Linked DNA regions of Homo sapiens: regions 1, 3 and 4 are each linked to region 2. The links are contacts of gene promoters, found by promoter capture Hi-C in human tissues and cell types (Jung and others, 2019). All regions are on one chromosome and are shown on one strand. The core of a region is centred on a gene start or on the middle of the fragment in contact, and the rest is flanking DNA. Distances in the headings are between cores, read along the strand shown. Region 1 has its middle 23 kb from the start of OR2S2. Region 2 holds the start of NPR2 (natriuretic peptide receptor 2). Region 3 overlaps LOC124902148 (a long non-coding RNA gene). Region 4 holds the start of CCDC107 (coiled-coil domain containing 107).

Region 1 (3,206 bases), core at 222-2,721, 140 kb after region 2:
AAAAACATAACCACAATACCATTCTTAGGCCCCCAAACATTTCACAATAAGTCTGTAGTGTAATTAACTCTCAAGTCAGTGTCTAAATTCCTGTAGAGTTTTTTCATTTGATTGTATTTTTTTTTTAATTGTAACTAGCCATTTAAGCTTCCAAAGATCCGAGTGGTAGAGAGGGGTAGTTCGAAACCAAGATAAATGGAATTTGTACAAATCGGACTGCAGTTAAATTTCATGTTCTTGGAACAATCTTTTCAACAGTCTTTTCCTTGCCTGTCTGTTCCAGCCTGTCTGCTCACCTGTAAAAGCAACAAGAGTAGGTAGGAAAACAATTACTCCTTTGCAGTTGAGACACTCCAAAGATTAAGCCTGTTAATTATTTGTACTCTCTGTTCTGGATTTGGCTTCTTCTTACCCTCCTCCAGGAAAATTGAGTAATGCCTAGTTTTGAGATGGGTAAGAGGATTGTCTCTTGAATGTACGTGGAACTATTAACAGCAACTTGAAAATGAAAAGAATTATGACTGAAAAAGAAAGAAAAAAAATGAGTAAGAGATACTGGAGGACATTGTAAGATGGATCTAAGGATAAGGATAAAATAACAAGATTAGCCAGGGAATTTCTAGGACAACAGTTGGAAAATCATACCCTGGGTAAAGGATGTGAAAGAAGAGATTTGGGGCAGGAATTTTACCAACAATCTAAGATAAAACTTTCCTATCTTGTAATCATTATTGTTTTATGTTAAATTAGAGTTGCCAGATAAAACACAGGATGCTTAGTAAAATCTGAATTTCAGATAAACAATGAATACTTTTTAAACTATAGCTATGACACAAAGTATATAGACATGCTTATACTAAAAAAAGTATTGTTTGGCCGGGAGCGGTGGCTCACTCTTGTAATCCTAGCACTTTGGGAGGCCGAGGTGGGTGGATTACAAGGTCAGGAATTTGAGATCAGCCTGGCCAATATGGTGAAACCCCGTCTCTACTAAAATTACAAAAATTAGCTGGGCATGGTGGTGGGCGCCTGTAGTCCCAGGTACTCGGGAGGCTGAGGCAGGAGAATCACTTGAACCTGGGAAGCAGAGGTTGCAGTGAGCCAAGATCGTGCCACCGCACTCCAGCCTGGGTGACAGAGCGAGATTCCGCCTCAAAAAAAAAAGTATTGTTTATCTGAAATTGAAATTAAATTTGAGCAACCTGTATTCTTATTTGCTGAATCTGGCAAGTTCATATTAAATGCATGGTAGCCAGGCACGGTGACTTATGCCTGTAATCCCAGCACTTTGGGAGGCCGAGGCAGGCAGATCACCTGAAGTCAGGAGTTCAAGACCAGCCTGACCAACATGGTGAAACCTCATCTCTACAAAAATACAAAAAATTAGCCAGGCGTGATGGCGAGTGCCTGTAATCCCAGCCACCTGGGAGGCTGAGGCAGGAGAATCACTTGAACCTGCGTGGCAGAGGTTGCAGTGAGCTGAGATCGCGCCATTGCACTCCAGCTTGAGAGACAGAGTGAGACTCTATCTGAAAACAAACAAACAAACAAACAAATAAATACATAAATAAATAATAAAAAATTTAAAAAAATATTAAATGCATGGTGATTCAACTTGTAAAACCGAGGACTATTTGGCCTTTAGGCTCTTAGTTTTCTTTCTTGGGATATGATTGAGTTTTCCTTATTCAGTCTACTTTTCTTATATATCTATCTAACATTATAGCATTATATTTTAAAAATTGGCCCAGTTTACATTAGCACCAAGTATAAGTGTATAGTCATGCACTGCACAATGATATTTTGGTCAGTATGTATGTTTTGGTCAATGATGTGTGGTCTGCATATATGACAATGGTCCATAGTTTATGATTCCATATTTTTACTGTACCTTTTCTATGTTTAGATACACAAATACTTACCATTGTGTTACAATTGCCTACAGTGTCCAGTACAGTAACACACTGGACAGGTTTCTAGCTTAGCAGCCATAGGCCATGCCATATAGCTTAGGTATATATTAGGCTAGGTTCGTGCAAGTCCAGTCTGTGATGTTCCCACAATGATGAAATCGTCTAATGACGCATTTCTCAGAATGCATCTCAGTCTAAACAACGCATGACTCTACTTATTTTCTTCTACACTTAGCAATATTAGGTCTGATTAGTCTTTTCATTTTTGCTAACCTGCAGGGCAAAATGTTTGAGAGCTATTAGTTTAGAGCACTTCTTAAATGAGGCAAACTTTTCTCTTGTGATTCCTATAATCAAGGTTTTATTCAAAAATAATTTTAAATTTTATTCTATATTATAGGAATGTGTACAATGAAATGTAATGATGTATAATACATTGGCTGTTTTTGAATTCCAACCATGGATTTCCCAGCTACTGGCAGTGAAACTGATCTTTTCTGTACGTACTCAAGTCAACACTCAAGAATTTCAACTTACCTTTAGCGAAAGCAAATATTTATATTTAAAAAGAAAACATTTGAATTCAGAATTCATTAAGATAAAAAAGTTAGCAAACTACAGATGCCTTGTTAGTTGACAGTCCTAATGGCGACGTCTAGGTCAGATAACTTATATTGACTTAAAACAGCATTGTCTTGACTTTCCACAGTCGTATTTGTGATTATGGAAATAATTTTAAAAAGACTAGTCTCTTTAATTTACATTTTCACAAAACGCTGTTGAAAGAGCAAATGTCTGCTCAGTTGTTTTTCCTTTGCTTAAAAAAAAAAAAAGTGCCAGGAATCCCACCCCACCCTGCTGCTGGGTAACAGTCAATCATTTATTATTCCTGGATCAAACACAAGCATTCATGCCTATGAAAACGTTTGGCAATGAATGGGATCTTGGTCTCTACTAAAAACAAAAAATGGCTAAAAGGAGACTTCAATTTATGTTCAAATTCTATGGCTGAATTCCTATAATTCCTAACTGGTGAAAATATTGGCAAGCTACAAGATTTTACTTAGAGTCAGATTTACTTCTTTGGTGTATGCCCAGAGGTGTTATTGAAAGCTATTTGTGGCCAGCTTTCCAGGAGACCAAATGGGCCTTAAATGGAATGAATATTGGCCCTGCAGTACAGTGCACAAGGAGAAGGAGGAGAATTGGACACTTTTATTAAAAAAAAAACAAAACTCATTGGTTATACTTAACTAATTTCTACATAGAAGTTTTAGTATTTGGCAAAGCAAA
Region 2 (3,265 bases), core at 766-3,265:
GATGCTTGAATGTTTAATCCCTAACATAATGAAGAATAGTCCTTAATGTTCAGAATAATGACATATGATGCACTTGTACTTGCGTAGGAGTCTGGGTGACAGTGGTGGCTGATCCTCACTGAGGGCTGCAGGTGTTCCAGAGAGACTTGCCTGGGTTTGGTGGCTATTATATTGTAAGCACAGCTTTCTACAGTAAGTTCCATGAGTCAGCAAAATATCTATAAAGAGCCTCTCCTTGGAGACCATGAAACCTGCATTTTAATCTCTCTTTTGCAACTAAAAAGCCATGTGGGATTGGGGGAGAGGAGCAAGTAAGGACACTGCGACCTTCCTCTCTGGGATTTGGTTTTCAATTATCTTTAAATGAGAGGGCTAAACAATATATTTATATGATCCTCTTAGCCCTGCCATTCTGTAATTCTTTCAGGAATTTTGTCATTTTGGATTTGCTTGTCTCATAAAACAATGTGTAGTTGCTTAAAAATCAACTATTCTATTTGGTTGACTTGGTCTAAAGTATTTCTCATGTTGTCTCGTCATTCTTTTGACTGTTCCTTTTTTTTTTTTTTGCCTTGGCCAGATAGGACAAAATTCCTTTTCACTGCAGTATTGGGAGCCTGGAACTAGAGTTACCAACCCCTCTGCGTTAAAGAAGGAGCTGTCCTGAGGCTTCCATCTCTACTGGGCTTGAGGCAAGAACATTGTTAGGGACGGCCTGCTCTTGGCCTCTGTGCCCCAGGGATTGCAAATGCATGTTCCTCAAAGGTAAGGGCTGTATCATTCGGCTTTCTTTGTATTCACAGGTACAGCTTGTGCTAGGCAGCCGGTGTTCAATAAATATCGTGCCTAAGGATAAAGTGGCATTGTCCTTAATTTCCCCCACCAAACCACTAGGTGTCGCCTTCATCTCAGGGAAACCATGCCCGTCCTCGCCCTATACACTCCCACCCCACTCCAGGGCTCCAGGAGCGCTCTTAGCTTGTGATTTCTGGAGAAATAGCTTGAAGGGGGGAGAGAAACCGTGGCTCTTAGCGCGGGCAGAGAATGGGCTTATGTGCATGTCCTTTATGACAGTTGGAGAAAAATCCCCAAGGTCCCATAGCAGTCCCTCTCAGCCACCATGAGATCATCCCTCACAAGCTGTTCTTGGGGTCAGATTGGCACTCCAGATATGAGGGCCCTAGGGAGAGCTTCCTAAGGGAAGCTGGGAGCAAGGTGGAACCCCAGGAGAGCGTGGATGGGCTTCCACTGCGGGGAGTGTCCCGCCGGTCCGTTACAGGCTTTCCCCAGGCGCCAGCCTGCGCTGTGCAGGAGACAAAAGAAAATCGAGGCCCTGACTGAGCAGATGGTGCGGAGGAAGCCGGGCGGGCTGCGGTGGGCCTCTGAGGACACGAGGAGGGCAGGGGGCATGGAGACAGCGGGGGGCCGAGAGTTGAGTCCCAAGCAAGAAGGAGCCTCGTGGACTTTCTAAGGACTGGTGGGAAGTGTACAGCAGGGGCCCCTGGCTGCTGGAGGGGCCCGTCCAGGGAGCGGGCATGGTCCGCGGTGGAGTAAGCCGCACTGCCGTCGGGAGGGCGCTATGGTTTGCTAGGTGAGGGGGCTGGTGAGGATACCACACGTCTGGGGATCCTCGACTGCTTCCTGGAGACTGGAACCACTGAGGGACTCAGGGAGTTCAGAGGGGAGACCCAAGAAGAACGGGCTGAGCGAGGGGGAGAGGACAAACCCTGGGGTCGCTGGCGTGTGTGAGATGGAAATGGAAGGAGGGGCGGCAGGGGGACCAGGGGCGTGGGGGAGACCAGGGTAGGCCCTGAGAGTGAGGGAGCGCCCGGGAACCCTGCTGGCCGGCGAGGCCTTGGTGCGGAGCCCCCAAGTGCTCACCGGGGTGGGTTTGGGACCTGGCGGTCCCGAGCGCCCGGGTGGGGGGTGGGGGAAGGCAGCCGGCGCCGGAGGGTGGGGCCGGGAGGGAGGAGGAGAGGCAGCGGGGGAGGGGCGGGGGCGGGCGGCCTGCCCGGGGGAGTCGCACTCGGCCGCCGGCGCAGCGAGCGGAGACGGGCCGGGCCGAGGCGACCTGACCCGGACGAGCGGCGCGCGCGGGGCCCAGGCGGGGGGCGGGAGGAAGCGCCGGGCAGCGCCGGCCGCCAGGGCCCAGGAGAAGCGGAGCAGAGAGGAGCGGGGACACGGGCGGGGCCGCCGTAGCTCCGGATGGGACCAGCGCCCGGGCCCGTTAGTCCAAGCAGGAGCTCCGGGAGAATCCTTCACAGGGAGATTTACCCCTGCCTTCCCCTGCCCTCCGGCCCAGGCCTCGCTTCGCTCCCCGCCTGCCCATGATCCCAGTCCTTCCGCGGCGCGGGCACCCTCCCACCTTACCCCCTTGGTCCTATGTGGCGCAGCGCCCTCCTGCCCTCCCGGCCCTTTCAGCTGTGAGGTTCCCCCAGGCCGTTTCTTTGTACCACCCGCCCCCCACCCCCACCCCATCCCAGTCCCAGATCCCCTTTTCCTTCTCAGCTTTAGATTTATCAGGCTTCTTCACCTCGCACTGTCCCCATCCTGGCCGCAGGCCCCCTCGGTCCCTCCCTCCCCCTGCCACCCCGTTCTCAGTCCTCAGTCCTTGCCCTAGGCTGGTAGCCCACTCCTTGCCCGCCCCCCGCCTTCCTCCCATCTCCCCCTCCTCTCCCCGGCCCCCAGCACCTTCTGCATCCCAGCCTACCTAGCCTACTCCTCCTCTTCCTGGCCCTCTTCCCCAGGCTCCAGGCTGGGGGGTGCTCGCGTCTCCCCTGTAGGCCAGAGCAGCCCCAAGTTCTGGGGGCGGTGGGGCTGCTGCTTTATCCCCATGGCGCTGCCATCACTTCTGCTGTTGGTGGCAGCCCTGGCAGGTGGGGTGCGTCCTCCCGGGGCGCGGAACCTGACGCTGGCGGTGGTGCTGCCAGAACACAACCTGAGCTATGCCTGGGCCTGGCCACGGGTGGGACCCGCTGTGGCACTAGCTGTGGAGGCTCTGGGCCGGGCACTGCCCGTGGACCTGCGGTTTGTCAGCTCCGAACTGGAAGGCGCCTGCTCTGAGTACCTGGCACCGCTGAGCGCTGTGGACCTCAAGCTGTACCATGACCCCGACCTGCTGTTAGGTCCCGGTTGCGTGTACCCTGCTGCCTCTGTGGCCCGCTTTGCCTCCCACTGGCGCCTTCCCCTGCTGACTGCGGGTGCTGTGGCCTCTGGTTTTTCGGCTAAGAATGACCATTATCGTACCCTGGTTCGCACTGGCCCC
Region 3 (3,182 bases), core at 406-2,905, 170 kb before region 2:
CTTTTGGTGATGGTTACATATCTTTTCATCACAGGCCGCATTCGCTTCTGTCTTAGACCAGCTTGTAGCCTTCCTTTGTGAACAGGGTAAGAGAGTAGGATCCTTCCCCTTCCCCACGTGTGTCACTTGGGGTCTTTACAGTTTTGACATTCACATTACATTTAGAGGCTGGACATCAGAAAAGATACCTGTAACTCCAAGCTGTACCTCTACTGCCCAAATATCAGGGAACTTTTAAGAGGTGAGGGGTCAGTGCTGTACATTTCAGCTTTTCCAGAACCATACTATCATCATCTGAGAGCCTGGAGGGCAGACACTAACACCCATGTTTTGCCCTCTCCTGGCCTCCCCACTACTCATTACAGGGAATGGGTGTTTACGGTTGACAAGAGGAGGGGGCCCAACCATGAGGGCATCAGATAGAATTTGCCATGTGGAAGGGGGCTCACCTGATCAACTTTGTGTCATTGATACAGTCTATGTCAGGACATCGGGAGCATCTCCTAAGACTCTGAAAGTCAGGCTATATCTGTCTTCATTACTTTAACCCACTGGCCTCCGGGAAGCCCTAGTTTACTGACAGGGTGTGGTAGCCAGAATAATGGCCTCCCAAAAATGTTCACACCCGAATCCCCAGAACCTGTGACTATGTCACTTTACCTGACAAAATGTAGATGTGGCTATGTTAATCAAGGTCCTTTAGATAGAGAGATTATCCTGTTTTATCTTGGTAGGCACACTCTGATCACATGAGTCCTTGAAAGGGAGAACCTTTCCCATCATGGGAAGAAAGAGATTCGGTGAGGGAAGGAGGGCCAGAGAGACGCCACAGGAGAAACACTCAACCCATAGGTCCTGATTTTGAAGGTGCAGGAAGAGGACCTTGAGCCAAGGAATGCAAGAAGCCTCTGAGAGCTGGAAAAGGCAAGGAAGCAGATTTTCCCCTTCAGCATCCAGAAAGGAACCAGCCCTGCAGACACCTTGACTTTAGCCCAGTGAGACCTGTGTCGACCTGATCTCCACAACTGTAAGACAATAAATTTGTATTGTTTAAGCCACCAAGTGTGTAATTTATTAGAGCAGCAAGAGTTTCGTGAACTGTGGAGGAAGCATGATGTAATAGAAAGAATAGGGAGACTCTGGTTAAAGAGACCAGCCTTGCCACAGTATGTGACTTTGGGCAAGTGACAGTTTTCCATCTGTAAAATACAAGATAGTCTGACCTCAATCAAGAGTATGATTGCTGGAGACACACTAGGTGTGGACTTTACAAACGCCTCTTTAAAATCTGTCACAAAGGCTTCAGAGTCAGGAGGGAGAAAAATGGGCCACCTGATTGCACCATGAGGGAGACTTGGATTTCTTTGATCACTGAAGCCAAAGAGTACAGATAGGTCTTCGGTGACTTGCCCCAGGCCTCTCCTTGGTCCTGCCTCAAATGGTGACACAGAAAGCACGTTCTCTGTGCTTAATGGCACAGAGCTGAAAAGCAAATACATCAAAAGGCCAACTCAAGATTCAAGCCTTGCAACAAGGCAAAATGATGGCTCCAAACCACAGAATGAAATGTCATAAAAATAATAACAGCAGGCCAGGCACGATGGCTCACGCCTGTTATCCCTTGGGAAGCCAAGGTGCACAGATCACAAGGTCAGAATTTCGAGACCAGCCTGGCCAATATGGTGAAACCCCGTCTCTACTAATAATACAAAAATTAGCCGGGCATGGCGGCGCACACCTGTAGTCCCAGCTACCCAGGAGGCTGAAGCAAAAGAATCGCTTAAACCCGGGAGGCAGAGGTTGCAGTGAGCCAAGGTGGTGCCACTGCACTCCAGCCTGGGTGACAGAGCGAGACTCTGTCTCAAAAAAAATAATAATAATAATAATAATAATAACAGCAAAGTCAGGCACAATGGCTCATGCCTATAATCCCAAGACTTTGGGAAGCTGAGGTGGGAGGATCACTTGGGCCTAGGAATTCGAGACCAGACTGGCCAACACAGCGAGACTCCATCTCTACAAAAAATTTAAAAATTAGGCAGGTGTGATGGCACATGCTTATGGTCTCAGCTTCTTGGGAGGCTGAGTGGGGAGGATTGTTTGAGCCCAGGAGGGCGAGGCTGCTGTCAGCCATGTTTGTGCCACTGCACTCTGGCCTGGGCAGCAGTGAAACCCTCCCTCAAAAAATAAATGAATCAAAATTAAAATAAAAAAAAGATAATACAGCAAGCATTTATTGAAAAATGAAATTTGGAATTCAAAAAATAAATTGCATAAGCATAGGATGGAGGGAGTCCTGGGTTAACAATTGTTTATGTAACAAAGTTTGAGGAGAAAGGCAGTTATTATTTTACACTTGAAGGGATCTTAGAGAGCCCAGCCTGCTTATTTTACAAATTGGGAAACTGGACTCAGCAGGCTGTAAGCGCCTTATAAACTGACCCAGTGACTGGAAAGAAGCTTGTGACAAAAGGCTGCCACATAGAACTGTAGCCCCCTTACCAAATACATCTAACATTGTGCCAGCCACACCTATAGCCCTTTTTTTTTGTTTTGTTTTTTACTTTGTGTTTTTTATCCCATACTTAAATACTACCTATAGCCCTTTTTAAGCAGGCAAACCCCTGCTGATGAGGCAGCCCTAGTCCCCAGAAATTGTGTCTTGTGACCTCCAACCCCTTTGACCTCAGCTGATTAAAATTAGCAAGCGAGGCCTGGCGCAGTGGCTCACACCTATAATCCCAGCTCTTTGGGAGGCCGAGGCAGGCGGATCACCTGAGGTCAGGAGTTCAAGACCAGCCTGGCCAACATGGCGAAACCCCGTCTCTACTAAAAATACAAAATTAGCTGGGCATAGTGGTACATGCGTAATCCCAGCTACTCAGGAGGCTGAGGCAAGAGAATAGCTTGAACCCAGGAGGCGGAGCTTGCAGTGAGCCGAGATTCCACCACTGCACTCCAGCCTGGGTGACAGAGCAAGACTCCGTCTCAGAAAAAAATGGGTTAAAAAGACAAATTTATAAAGGCCAGGCCCAGTGGCTCACGCCTGTAATCCCAGCACTTTGGGAGGCTGAAGTCGGTGGATCACGACCAGCCTGACCAACACGATGAAACCCCATCTCTACTAAAAATACAAAAATTAGCTGGGCGTGGTGGCACATGCCTGTAATCCCAGCTACTCG
Region 4 (3,243 bases), core at 330-2,829, 130 kb before region 2:
GTTTCATCCGGAAACCATCCCTCCACCCCGCTTCGTCCATGGAAAAATTGTCTTCCACGAAACCGGTCCCTGATGCCAAAAAGGTTGGGGACTGCTTGTCTAGTGGTATTGAAGAAAGTGAAATAGCGGCACTAAAGAATAAATTAGAAGTTGAATTAAGGGTTCCGAATGATGGGAACACACTTGAGCTGAGAACTGAAGGTCGTGTAGAACCCAGTATGCAGAAAGGGAATGCAGCGGCATGTCAGGGAGAGTCAGTGTAATTTCAACTGTCTGGCTTACAGTAGTAGCTGCTCAAGTTAAAAAATCACTAGAGTCCGTCGGGGTGGCACGTGCCTGTAATGTCAACTACCCGGGAGGCTGAAGCGGGAGGATCCCAGGAGTTTAAGACCAGCCTGGGCAAGAGAGCGACCCGCCGTTCCAAAAAAAAAAAAATCACTAATAAGTAGGCACGGTTCTAACTTGAGTGATCCCATTTAATCATCATAGCTCTTGAAGTAAGTGCTTATCTTCATTCCTCAGAGTGGAAAGGAAGGCACGGAGAGAGAACTAAGTTTCACAAGGTCACCGCTCTTGAGTACAGGAGGCAGGATTCTAGCCCAAGCAGAGTCCATATGTTGTGTACCAGCTACACAGTGAATGGTGGCTACTATGGCGTTTGCCAAAGGGAGAGGGAGGTAGAAGAGGAGGCTGTTTCAGGAATGCTCCATATTTGGAGTAATGAGCACAAGGACTTCATAGCAAGGCCAAGAACAGCGTAAAGCTGCCCGCGCATGAAAAGCAGCCGCGTTGACCGGGCGCGGTGTCACGCCTGTAATCCCAGCACTTTGGGAGGGCGAGGTGGACTGATCGCTTGACACCAGGCGTTCGAGACCAGCCTGGGCAACAGGTGAAAATCCGTCTCTACAAAAAATACAAAAATTAGCCAGGCATGATGGCGTGCGCCTGCGGTCCCAACTACTTGGGAGCCTGAGGTGAGGCATCGCGTGAGCCCGGGGAGGTCGAGGCTGCAGTGAGCCGTGGTCTCGGGAACAAAAAACAGCCGCGCTGAGAATGAGCCCCGTGTGGTTGGTGCGCGGACACGCACTGCCTGCGTAACTAGAGGGAGCTGACGGATGACGCCCCCGCGCCACGCCGCTCAGCGGGATACGCTTCTTGGCGGACTTTGGAGTGGGAAGCGGGGAATGTCTACGTGCGTATGCACGTGGCACTCTCTGCCCGAGGTCCGGGGACTTTCCCCTAGGCGGAAAGGGGAGGAACAGAGTCCTCAGTGTGTAGCCTAGGATACAGGCCTTCAGCACGAACCACGTCCTCAGCTTCACAGAGTAGTATTTTATAGCCCTAAAGAAATTGTGTTTTATGATTAGGGTGAGAAAGTTGGTGGCGTGAGATTAAAAAAACCGTTTTCGGGCATAACTTTCTAAGACTATAGGCTTTCAGAGGCATTGTGGCTAGCAGAATAGCTAATAGACACGAAATGAACAAATACAGGAAAGCTAGAATGACACTATCTTATGCAAATATGGTCTGGCCCCGCCCTACGGGGAGTGGGCGTGGCCTCCCCGGAGCCGGCCGGCCTGCTCGCGTGCGCGTGCGCGTTGGGGCGGCCGGCCAATGCCGGACCGCTTCGGCACCGCCCGCCCGATCCCTCCACCCGTGGGCCGGCAATGGCGGGCGCAGTTTCGCTCTTGGGTGTGGTGGGGCTGCTGCTTGTGTCTGCGCTGTCCGGGGTCCTAGGAGACCGCGCCAATCCCGACCTCCGGGCACACCCAGGTACCAGCTAGGGCTGCTGGAGGAGGGCTGGGACTGCGCACGGGTCCCAGGCCCCAGCTCGGCTGACTCGCCTGTATCCTCCCTCCGCAGGGAACGCAGCCCACCCCGGCTCTGGAGCCACGGAACCCCGGCGGCGACCACCGCTCAAGGATCAACGCGAGCGGACCCGGGCCGGGTCGCTGCCTCTGGGGGCGCTGTACACCGCGGCCGTCGCGGCTTTTGTGCTGTACAAGTGTTTGCAGGTACGGGGCGGCCGGGGGTAGGGGTGCCCCTGCAGGTGCGGGACCGCCGGGCGTGGGGATCCCCTGAGCCCGAATCTCCCATGGGGGTGCCAGGGTACCAAGAACAAGACACAGCTTCCCTGTCTGTAAAATAAAGACAGTAGTCCGTTGGCCTTCCAATATTATGAGGTTATTTTGAGGATCCAGGGAGGTAACGGATGTGAAGAGCGTGTGGTGAACTGTAAATAATGACTATCACATTTAGTTCTCCTACAATCCAGTGAGGAGTAGTCACTTGCTCGAGGTCACCCAGCGCTGGCAACTGCTGGAGCTGGGATTTGAACCCAGCTAGCAGTGTCCATGCTACAAGAGTGGGGCCAGCCTTGGCACAGGAGGTTGATTGCTGCAGCCAGTGTTTCTAGAGTTCCAGATATGAAGTGGTCTCATGTTCTCCTTGGGAGGAGGCCCTGAAATGTAAGTTGACAGTACATTTTGAAAAACAGTACCTTCCAGGGCTGTGTCTTTAGCCGTGACCCTATTACGTACTTGCATTATAAAATAGAACCGATGGAACCAGTTTAGATATATGAAACTAGAAGAGATAGCTAATAATGACCCCAGGTAGATGTGACAGGCTAGGATGAATGACTGAATTTAATGATGAACTTTGAGAAGGATAGACTAGTAAATTCTGTTCTTGGACCTGAGTACAGTCTGGGAGAAACATAATGTAGCAGGAGGTCTTATGAAAGAGAGTTAGGCATTCCAGTTGACTGAGTTCACTGTGGGATGTGACAAGCCACTTCCCAAATCAGTGCTGGGAACATGGCACTGTGCTTCACCTGCCAATCAGAATGCCCCTGGAGAATTGTATTCTCCTCAGGGCATTGCTTTAAGAGCACTACGTGTTCAGGAAACAACCAGAGAAAACCACCGTCAATGAGCACTGACTGTAAAGACTGACGTTAATAAACCAGAAAAAACTCAGGAAAGTGGGTGAGGGTGTGACCATTGCCTTCAAATTCCTGAGGGGCTGTCACCTTGAGGAGACATTATTTTGGAAGGCTCCAGTAAGCACTATGGAAAGAAGATACATAAAGGACAAATTTTGGCTTTGTGCATGAACTGTCTAACAACCAAAGTTTTTGTTTTTTTCGAGATGGAGTCTCGCTCTGTCACCCAGGCTGGAGTGCAGCGGCGCAATCTCGGCTCACTGCAACCTCTGGCTCCCAGGTTCAAGCGATTCTCC

What was found. The method cuts DNA at HindIII sites, captures the fragments that hold promoters and counts their contacts. A contact is called where the count stands out against the background at its distance.
Region 1: a contact is called between a fragment that was not itself captured here and the fragment with the promoter of NPR2 in region 2, in 5 of the 25 tissues and cell types used here (IMR-90 fibroblasts, aorta, mesenchymal stem cells and 2 more).
Region 3: a fragment that was not itself captured here is called in contact with the fragment with the promoter of NPR2 in region 2 in 1 of the 25 tissues and cell types used here (liver).
Region 4: a contact is called between the fragment with the promoter of CCDC107 here and the fragment with the promoter of NPR2 in region 2, in 1 of the 25 tissues and cell types used here (thymus).

The regions. Positions count from the first base shown.
Region 1 is chr9:35,933,394-35,936,599 of GRCh38, forward strand. No RefSeq gene overlaps it. Among named protein-coding and RNA genes, the nearest start is that of OR2S2, 23 kb to the right of the region's middle. The HindIII fragment of the contact is 7,970 bases long and covers 1-3,206 here.
Region 2 is chr9:35,789,576-35,792,840 of GRCh38, forward strand. NPR2 (natriuretic peptide receptor 2) reads left to right here and starts at 2,016. Exons shown (of 22, transcript NM_003995.4): 1 at 2,016-3,265. The coding sequence starts at 2,834. It also overlaps a transcript of RGP1 not described here. The HindIII fragment of the contact is 19,498 bases long and covers 1-3,265 here.
Region 3 is chr9:35,620,924-35,624,105 of GRCh38, forward strand. It overlaps LOC124902148 (a long non-coding RNA gene), which reads left to right. Exons shown (of 2, transcript XR_007061470.1): 1 at 1-86; 2 at 735-1,058. It also overlaps a transcript of CD72 not described here. Among named protein-coding and RNA genes, the nearest start is that of CD72, 4.1 kb to the left of the region's middle. The HindIII fragment of the contact is 6,866 bases long and covers 1-3,182 here.
Region 4 is chr9:35,656,713-35,659,955 of GRCh38, forward strand. CCDC107 (coiled-coil domain containing 107) reads left to right here and starts at 1,580. Exons shown (of 5, transcript NM_174923.3): 1 at 1,580-1,773; 2 at 1,864-2,015. The coding sequence starts at 1,668. It overlaps ARHGEF39 (Rho guanine nucleotide exchange factor 39), which reads right to left. Exons shown (of 9, transcript NM_032818.3): 9 at 2,631-3,243. It also overlaps RMRP. RefSeq lists enhancers at 344-852, 853-1,360 and a silencer at 1,443-1,702. The HindIII fragment of the contact is 10,595 bases long and covers 1-3,243 here.